Regions from separate parts of the Homo sapiens genome. Here regions 2 and 3 are each linked to region 1. The links are contacts of gene promoters, found by promoter capture Hi-C in blood cells and fetal thymus (Javierre and others, 2016). All regions are on one chromosome and are shown on one strand. The core of a region is centred on a gene start or on the middle of the fragment in contact, and the rest is flanking DNA. Distances in the headings are between cores, read along the strand shown. Region 1 holds the start of MIR22HG (MIR22 host gene). Region 2 overlaps SMG6 (SMG6 nonsense mediated mRNA decay factor). Region 3 overlaps LOC284009 (a long non-coding RNA gene).

The links. Contacts are between HindIII fragments. The CHiCAGO score rates a contact against its expected background, and 5 or more counts as called.
Region 2: a fragment that was not itself captured here is called in contact with the fragment with the promoter of MIR22HG in region 1 in 4 of 17 cell types (naive CD4 T cells, naive CD8 T cells, total CD4 T cells and 1 more); the score reaches 6.2 in naive CD4 T cells.
Region 3: a fragment that was not itself captured here is called in contact with the fragment with the promoter of MIR22HG in region 1 in 3 of 17 cell types (non-activated CD4 T cells, M2 macrophages and M0 macrophages); the score reaches 5.8 in non-activated CD4 T cells.

What each region holds. Positions count from the first base shown.
Region 1 is chr17:1,714,418-1,717,576 of GRCh38, forward strand. It overlaps MIR22HG (MIR22 host gene), which reads right to left and starts at 1,793. Exons shown (of 3, transcript NR_028505.2): 1 at 1,713-1,793. It also overlaps a transcript of WDR81 not described here. RefSeq lists an enhancer at 1,940-2,581. The HindIII fragment of the contact is 4,707 bases long and covers 1-3,159 here.
Region 2 is chr17:2,259,652-2,262,790 of GRCh38, forward strand. All of the region lies in intron 8 of SMG6 (SMG6 nonsense mediated mRNA decay factor), which reads right to left. Among named protein-coding and RNA genes, the nearest start is that of SMG6, 43 kb to the right of the region's middle. RefSeq lists an enhancer at 65-194. The HindIII fragment of the contact is 2,389 bases long and covers 212-2,600 here.
Region 3 is chr17:2,404,321-2,407,545 of GRCh38, forward strand. LOC284009 (a long non-coding RNA gene) reads right to left here. Exons shown (of 3, transcript NR_028335.1): 3 at 2,661-2,910. Among named protein-coding and RNA genes, the nearest start is that of MNT, 4.9 kb to the left of the region's middle. The HindIII fragment of the contact is 2,381 bases long and covers 119-2,499 here.

The DNA of each region.
Region 1 (3,159 bases), core at 543-3,042:
CCCAGGGAGTTCAGCTGGAAGGAGAGTTCTGGGGGCCTGGATTGGGGAAGAGTGAGGAAGGGAGGAGGCCTAGCGTTTGAAAGAAGGTCAGCAGAGGCCCCCGGGGCTGTGAGGGGCGGACAGGGGACCACAGGCTGGAGAGGAGGGAGGTATCGGCAGGGTGGCCGGGGCTGTGAGGGGCGGGCAGGGGACCACAGGCTGGAGGGGAGGGAGGTATGGGCAGGGTGGCTGGGCAGCTTCCCCAGGACTCTCAGATGCCAGGCATTCCGCTTGCGCATTCCGGGTACATCTGGTATGAATTCCAGGCTGTCTGCCGGCCCCTCCATGTCTGAACTTTGTTCCAAGTTCCAAGCCCCGCCCCCACAGTTCCAACGCATGAATCAGCAGGAAAAGCCGGGCCCTGCAGCATGGCCCAGGGAGGGGGCTGGGGGCGTGGCAGGCTCGGGGGATGTGAGCTGGGGAGGGCGGGTCCGTGCTGACACTCAGTCCAAGGGCATGGCCCACGCCAGGCTGAGGGGCCAAGGCGGTCTTGCCTTGGAATTTCTATACTCAGAGGGTAAGAAAGATTGGGGGATACGGGGTGCGGTTCAAATTCCGAAACCCTCTTGGGAGGCATGAACTTTGTGTATCTTCCTTCCCCTGGGTGACCAGTCCAACTCCGTCCGACCTTCCTCTGTCTGAGATAGCTCTGTTCAACCCAGAGGACTCAGCAGCTGCTGAGAGTCTGTGCCAAGCAGGTGCCCTTGGCTGCAGGGCGGGGTGGGCCCAGGGCACTGACCCTCTGACCAGCTGCTCCATCAACCCTCTGGCACTCTGACAGCTCCTAGCCCAATCTGACAGCCAGGATGACAGGCCAAAGGAGTTGGAGGCTGGAACCAGGGCCGGAGGGAGGTGGGGGTGACAGCCTCGCCGGAGGCCATGGGGAGGGGCCAAGAGTTGGCCGAGAGGTGGGGAGAGAGGCAGCCCAGTGATGACTAACCCAGGCGCCCCACCCAGCCAGCCGGCTTCCCAGGCAGTCAGGGCCAGGCCTGGGCTAGGGGCCTCACAATCGGACAGGCTGGGGGGAGGTGCAGAGGTGACCTTCTCTCGGCCCAAGACGGCCAGTTAGTCTGGGGAGCGGGGGTTAGAGTTTCCAGGCCCTCCTCTTGCCCTCTTCCCCCCGCCCAACCACGGTGAAACCCTAACCTTTGGGTTGCATAAGGCCCCGGCACCGCCGCCCCCTACTCCTCTCCCCTCCCCCCTTACATAACATCCCCTGGAGAGAACGAGAGGAGGGGCCGGCCCGCCCAGCGACCCCTTCCCTGCCAGGGCGCTGAACTGGCCCTGACCCAGTGAACGCCGGCAGAGGCAAAGCACCTCCTCGCCGCCCGCTCGGGGGGTCCAGACCCTCCCCAGGCTAGATGGCCGGCCCCTGTATCCTCAGACCGGGGGCCGCCGGGTGAGCCGCCCCCGGCCCTCCGGCCCCTCGGCTCTCCCCCCGCCCCCCGCCACTCCGCCAGCCCTTCCGCCACGACTCCCGTCCCAGACTCTTTCCTCGTAGCTCCTGACACACTAACCCGGCCAGTCCAGGCCCCTCTCCCCGAGGCGCCCCTGCCCCCGCCGCCCCTTCTCCTCCCGGAAGGGCTGGGTGTGGCCGCCCGGACCCCACTTTCACCCTCCATCCCGTTACCGCGGCTCCCCGCTGCGTGACCGGGTCGCCAGCTCACACCCACCTGGTGCTGGGTGTGGGGGTTGCTGCACGAGGGGGAGCAAATCACTGCGTCCGCTCCCCACGGCCGGCGGCGCTGTCTCTTCTCGGCACCCAGCACACACCGGCTCCAGGCTCCGATCAGCTGGCGGCGTCGTGACGCACGAGCTGCGAATGCACGGCCCGGGGCCAATCACCGCCCACTGCTGGGCAACGTGGCCCCGCCCACCCGGGGGCCGACGGGGCCTCGCCCTGGTCCCGCCTCTCCGGGCGCCCTGGCTCTGATTGGCAAGGAGGCCACCCTTTTGCCGGGCGGAATTGCACGAAGCCACGCCCACCCACTGAGGAGCCGGCCAATAGACGGACAGGTGTGGCCCAGCCCTCCGCGTCAGCGACCCGCTTAGAAAAGCGCTACGTCAAACGAGAGTCCTAAAGAGCAGGCGAAAGCCACGGCGTCTGCGTTTGCAATGCATGCTGGTCCGTGTAGTTCTCAGCCTGACACCGTCGTTCCCAGAACCCAGCGCGCTCTGTGAGTTGGCATTTTTAAACTGAGCTCGGAATCCAGCCCGGGGAAGTCCTTAAAGGGCGACAGCCCCTCCTTGTTGGAGTCGTGAGTGCTTCTTTTAGACATTCCCCAAACTGACTCGCCGGCCTCTGCGGGACGCTATAGCTCTTTAAGGAAAGGTGGAGCGGACCAAGGAGCAGGAGTGGGCAGAGCGTCAGCCCCCAGGGCAGCAGAGACTGCCGTTGGAGAGCTCTCCAGGGTTTTTGGAGGAGGGAGGGTGCTCGCCTCGCCCAGCCCACTCCTCCTGGGGGCTCTTCCTAACCACAGGAGGCTTTTTTTCTTGGATGTCTCTTCCCAGTCCCAGAAGAGCCCCCAGAGCCTCCCAAGAGGTAGCTTTCTAACAAAAGATTCATAGCACAGTCCTCACCTTAGGGTAGAGGGAGGGCTTCTGGTCAGAAATTAGGGGATGGGCCATGCCAAAGTGCAAAGGGTCAGCAATCGCATCCTCTGATTAACCCCCATTCAGTCCCGCCCTCCAAAGCTCTTCACTGACTCAGGCCTACTTAGGGAAGAGATTCGAAGGTGGAGACCAATGAGCAGGCTGCTCCTTCCCCAGGGGCCAATCAGAGTCTAGATGAGCGGGGGATGGGCAAAAAGTGAAATGAACCCAGTGACTTGGCAAAAGCTGCTGGTCGGCGTTTTTAAAGGGGCAAGCCGGAGACCTGCCCTACCTTATCAATCCCCGCAAGTCCCCCAAAGAGGAACATGTGGACTGAAATCCATGCCTTTTCCTTCAGCTCCAAATAGGGGCTGAGGGTAACTAAGCAGGAATGATGAGGCTGGAGGGTGAGATCCTTCCTTCTGTTAAATACGCACTCCATCAGGTAATTGATAAGGTTCACTTGGAGCTCCAAAATTCTGAGCCTGCGTTCAGGACATTGCGCCTTTAAGGAAACTTCCTGCCTTG
Region 2 (3,139 bases), core at 156-2,655, 540 kb after region 1:
GACAAAACGAGACCCTGTCTCCAAAAAAAAAAAAAAAAAAAAAGTTCAAGGAATATGTGTGCATTCGCACACTAATAAAGGGACTGTGCACAGTCCAGAAAAATATTTGAAAATATAACCTCTCTACCTACCTAACGCCATACAGGAAAACCCCTGAATCTCTCAGGAAAGGGAGGAGCACGAACTAATCTAAGAACCCAAAGGAGAACGAAGCTTCAGTTTAAGATAGATGTGGTCACAAAGACGGTTTCACAAACCACTCTGCTGTGGTTATTTGCCATAAAGCAAATAACCAGCACACAGGGAGCTTTGGCTACCTTGTGCGAGCTTCAGATTTAAGCAAGGCACCAAATAAGGGAAGGATTCTGGCGCATCAACTCCCAGGAAAAGTGTTTCAAGTTAAAAATGGTCATTCAGGTTTGGATGTGAACTTCTGTATCTGCTCTTTATCAACAGAGGCAACTCTACCTCCCTGGCAGCTAGCAGCAGAAAAAGAAGAAAACTGTTAGAATACAAATGGATTACACAAAGACAACAACATGGCCTGCTACAGCCTGGCATTCGCCTTGACACTAAAAACAAGGCTAGAAACACGCATTGCAGATCTTCTGGGATTCCACATCTGAGCTGAACCAAGCATGTCCAGGAGAAGGCAGGCCATGATGTCACTTTCCCCCCCCACAGCCAGATGCTTCAAGATGAAGGCTGTAAACCACAGCACTGTTGGTGAGAGACTCAGTTTCACTGTGACTGGAGGCAAGGCCTGCTTCCAGCTAGTTTTTTTGGTCAATCAAATCTTTTCTGTGCTGGTTCCCAGACCCAAACTCTGTAGTTCAAAAGTCAAAGCAAACACCTCAAATCTTTTATCTTTGATCCAATTCTTTATCTTCCAAATTCTCTCTTCGTCCTCTGTCTCTGAACAATGAAAATCAATCTTAACAAGGATCCACAAAGCAAGGAAAACATGGGCATTAACTTCTTCCTAATTTATTTAAAATGCTCTGTCACTGCTATCATTAAACGTATAGAAAAAAATTTGAGTTTAGAGTTAAAAGGGAAGAGGCCGGGCGCAGTGGCTCATGCCTGTAATCCCAGCACTTTGGGAGGCCGAGGTGGGTGGATCACCTGAGGTCAGGAGTTTGAGACCAGCCTGGCCAAAAATGGCAAAACCCTGTCTCTACTGAAAATACAAAAATTAGCTGGGTGTGATGGCGGGTGCCTGTAATCCCAGCTACTTGAGAGGCTGAGGCAGAAGAATCACTTGAACCCGGGAGGCGGAGGTTGCAGTGAGACGAGATCATGCCATTCCACTCCAGCCTGGGCAACAGGGCAAGACTCTATCTCAAAAATATATTTAAGAAAAAAGAAAAAAAAGTCGGGCGCGGTGGCTCACGCCTGTAATCCCAGCACTTTGGGAGGCCCAGGAGGGCAGATCACGAGGTCAGGAGATCGAGACCATCCTGGCTAACACAGTGAAACCCTTTCTCTACTAAAAATACAAAAAAAAAAAAAATTAGCCAGGTGTGGTGGCGAGCACCTGTAGTCCCAGCTACTCAGGAGGCTGAGGCAGGAGAATCACTTGAACCCGGGAGGCGGAGCTTGCAGTGAGCCAAGATCGCACCACTGCATTCTAGCCTGGGTGACAGAGCGAGACTCCGTCTCAAAAAAAAAAAAAGGGAAGAGAAGAATGACAGCGATACAAGTAAATAAACTGCTGGTTATACAAGTATGCTTACATTGTCACAATTTATCACCTGTATGGCTCTGTTATGTGCACTTTTCTGTGTATATATATTTTTGGAAGATTTCTTTTAACTCTGCAATAATTTTTTAAATTGCCACAACTTTTTCTACTAGTCCACAAAAAGCCTTTGTTTCACAGCCAATAAATACCCTTTGCCCCATATGTCCTAATCCCCACCATTATTCTAACTCTGAGGTGGTAGACATGCAGATGACTGGTGCTATAATAAACAACTTTCTGCTACCCCTCGGTGGACAAAGCTGTGCAGATGTGTTGATGGTGTATGCTATATCCCCAGTGTACGGATGTAAAGACAAGGAAAGAGATTAAAAAATCTGTTCATGCAAACAAAAAGAAATTTAGGAATGCAACCCATAAGATCTCACTCCTGGTCTGCAGTGACCACAAGTGACAGCTTCCTAGGAGCACGAAGGGCACTATTAGTGCCTTATTCAACCTTTTGACATATGTCACTTGCAAGTATTTCAAAAGCCATAGAGTTTTATAGATCTGTCCAGAAGTCTAAAGGAAAACCTGCCAAAGACATTCCTCAGAAGAGAATGTCAAATGTGTTAACATAGTTTGCTTGACAAATTAGGACCTAGCATCTCAGAGATTTGTGGCACAAGTAAACTCAAAATCTCAATAGCAAGAATAAGGTTTTAGCATCTTTATCAAGAAAAAAAATCCCAGAAAAATGTAAATCCATAGCGAGTATTATCACAATTCCTCTTTCCCATACGCATCAGGAGCTGCAGTCCTACTGTGTGTGTGAAAGTCAAGAATAGGACTTAGTGCCAATGATTACAACACAAAGCATAACTTATTCCTAAGCCAAGCTGGGCTTGGCTCAGAAAGCTTCCCAGAATGATGGAAGGCATGACTTTAGAGTGAGTCAACCTTTGCTAATACATAAAATAAAGCAGAGAAAGAACTATTTGAAGGATTCACTTCTAAGCTTGAGCCAAATCAAAAGCTCAAATCTATCTACATTGTGATGAATCTTCAGTTCCAACTGAGTGATCAGACAGCACCAATGTGGACATCTGTACCATGGCCCAAGACATTATAATGACAGAATCTTGGCTGGGAATCTCAGAAGCAACCATTCCTTGCAGTTTCGAACCATGCTATGTTTTTATCCATGTTGTTCCTTCTGCCAGAAAAGTCAGCTGACCACATCTACCTAAAATACTTCTTTGACTTGCAAAATTAAGGACAAAGATTACCTTTCTAGGTCGCTCTACCTGTTCACCCTGAGTTAATCTCTTTTACCTCTGTCCAGTGTATATATTTCTATTATTACATTTATAACACTTTATTGCAAGTATTTATTTACATATCCTTTTTTCTTACTAGACTGTGTTTTTGAGGGAAGGACCAACATCACTTACT
Region 3 (3,225 bases), core at 59-2,558, 690 kb after region 1:
AGACTCCGTCTCCAAAAAAAAAAAAAAAAAAAAAAAAAAAGGGTGGGGGAGGCTGTTTCTGGACCTATTGTTGCCTACAGGAGCCTGAAAATGGCCAAAAACAATACCTCATCAACCAAGCTTTCCCCAGTTGAGGAATGGACAGTGGGGGTGGGAGATACCTATAAATGGCGATGTGAGGGCATGAAAGAAGAGGGGAATGAATAGGAGGGCTGTTTAATATTTTAGCCCCAGCTTCCTGTTCCAAGGGGGTGGAGCCAGGATAGAAGCTGGCAAATGTACTCACTCAAGAGAAAGAGAAATAAGTCCTTTTGGTTTCAGCAGAAAGGTTAGCAGGTTTGGGGAATTATCCAAAGGCCAGCAATCTCTAAAAAGGTGTTCCTTAAGTTTCTTTTTCTTTTTTTCTTTTTTGAGATAGAGTCTCCCTCTGTTGCCCAGGCTGGAGTGCAGTGGTGTGATCTTGGCTCACTGCAACTTCTGCCTCCCAGGTTCAAGTGATTCTCCTGCCTCAGCCTCCGGAGTAGCTGGGATTACAAGCACGCACCACCACGCCCGGCTAATTTTTGTATTTTTAGTAGAGACGGGGTTTCACCATGTTGGCCAGGCTGGTCTCAAACTCCTGACCTCAAGTGATCTGCCTGTCTTGGCCTCCCAAAGGGCTGGGATGACAGGCGTGAGCCACCGCGCCCGGCTGTTCCTTAAGTTTCTTCATGGCTTCTGGGTGCTTAGTACCTTGGAGCAGGAGAAAAGCTGGGCTGTCCATCATTGTGAGTTTCTCACGAGAGGGTTTCCGTTTTCAGTCTTCCTCCCCGAGTCTTGTGCACCCCACCTCCCAGTTCAAATTCCATTATGTCCTCCAATTTTTTAATCTTTTATTCTTTTTTTCACCAACCACAATAAGAAGCACCAATTCCCCAATTTTTTAATATGCTGAGCCAGAGACATCCCCTTAGTGGAACTGTCTTCCTATCCCCCACCACTCACCTAACAAAGTATCAACTCCAAGAGCTATGAAAATCAGTGCCCTGACTCCTACAAAGCCTGAGTCATGAGATGGGGGAAAGGGCGTGAAGCCGAAAGTACAGATGTTCACAGGAAATCCCAACCCTTCAAGCCTGATGTCTCATCTTTTGCAAGCAGCTAAGGAGCTTTTCACATACCATCATTAAAACAAGACCCATGGGAGGAAGCTGGCTGCAGGATGAAGAGGAAAAAACAGAAGACTAGTACACTCAAGACATACCAGAGAAGATCCATTTCATAAATATTTATTGTGTGCCTGAGGTGCCAAGCACTAGGCTAGGTATGCTGTGGCCAAGGCCAGGGGACCTCTGGTAAGCCAGAGCGGGGCAAAAGCAAACAGAGCGGAACTCCACTCCACTGTGATAACTTGCAAAAGATTAGTTCTGCTGTTCGCCACCGTGCTGGATGCAGCACCAGAGACAGGACGACACGAGGACCCAGAGGGCGCCGCCATGCTCATTTCAGAAGGTGCAGCCTCCGTGTCCGTGGGTCCGCACCCATGGAGGCAACTAACCGTGGATCAAAAATATTCAGGAAAAAAAAATGGAAAATATACAAGAAAAAATAATACAAATTTAAAAACCAACACAGCACAAGAACTATTTACACAGCATTTACATGGTATGAGGTATTTGAGTAGCGCAGAGATGAGTTAAAGGATACCTGAGGATGTGCATAGGTTACATGTAAGGGATTTGAGCATCATCCATGGACAGGTATTCAGGGAGGCTCCAGGAACCAATCCCCATTGGACAGTGAGAAGCAACTGTAATTCCGTTTTTCTATGTAGAGATAAAAACAAATTCAGTGGATTTAAGGCTGGGCCAGTCAACTGAGCCTGATTCCCCCAGTCTGAATGATGAGTGGGACTCTGAATTCCTTTGACAGAGGTGGACCCATTCAATCATCAGTGAAATGGGGTCCCCACAGCCAAAAGTTTCCACAGGACTCTTTACCTCCTTTCCCCACCCCAAGTGAGTTGTCAGAGGACCTCTCCTGAACTCACAGAACAGGTCCAATCAAGTTCCACCTCCCCATTCATGTCCTTTCCAGAAGCTGGGCGCGGTGGCTCACGCCCTAAGTTCCAGCTACGTGGGAGGCTGAGACAGGAGAATCGCCTGAGCCCAGGATTTCAAGGCCAGCCTGGGCAACATAGCAAGATACTGTCTCAAAAAAAAAAAAAAAAAAATTGCAGCCTCACATGATGTCATAGCTGGAAGAGCTGGGATCATGGGGTCTGACCTCCCAAGAGAAGGTGTATCCAAGGTCACAAAGCTGCCAAGCATCAGCTAGGTTGAGAAGTGGCCTGGTCCTCCTCTTTGGCTGGCTGGGCCAGGCCTGGGGAAGTGCTATCAGTGTGGGGTGTTGAGTCCCTGAAAGCCTCCCAGAAGTGGGTGAAGATGGAGAGGGAACTCCACCCCTCCTCGTTAAAGACAGGAATAATCATTCACTTTGCTTAGTGGTCCCCAATAAACAAGCTTAGCAGATAAGCGGGAAGACAGGGAAAGGGAATCAGACTTGGGATCCAGGAGCTCGCAGGACCCTGTTCTGCCCCAGGCCACTCAGGAATGGAGAGCTGCTAGCTGGACCTGGGTAGGTCACCATTACTCACTGGGGCTTTTGTCTGGCATGAAAGGTGACGGGAGAAAGGGGCAGATTTTTATCCAGGCAGCCACCGTGGGTGTGGACACTGAGTAATAAGGAAAGAAATGCAGTTCAGAAGCAAAGAGGGAGGAGCCAGGTCCTCTGAGCTCTTCTGAGAAACCAGAGCCCAGTCGAGCTCTGCAGCTAGAGTGGCAGCTGCGGATGACAGTGGGTCAGAAGCTTGGTGGGAGGAGGCTGACCCAGCGGAAAGGCACAGGAGACGGATGACGATGTCAGGGATTCCTTTAAAGGAAAAAAGAGGTGGCTTTATGACAGCAAAACTAATTCAGGTCAAGGGAGTGGGACTGGGCAGAAGTTATGAGTAAAGCCGGGTGGAGTCTTGCCATGGGAGTCAAGAGTCCGCTGGATCACGCAGGGGTGGGGACATGGTGATAGGGAAGAAACCTCCCAGGACCGACGGGCTGCAATGTGATCAGTGCCCCACACAAAGGACTAAGGTCTATATCCCAGCAGCCCCAGTTCACACCCAAATGCAAGGCTGTAGCATCAAGTCTTGAAAGCCCAAGAGATCAGCAGCCTATGCCAGGAATGAGGCTC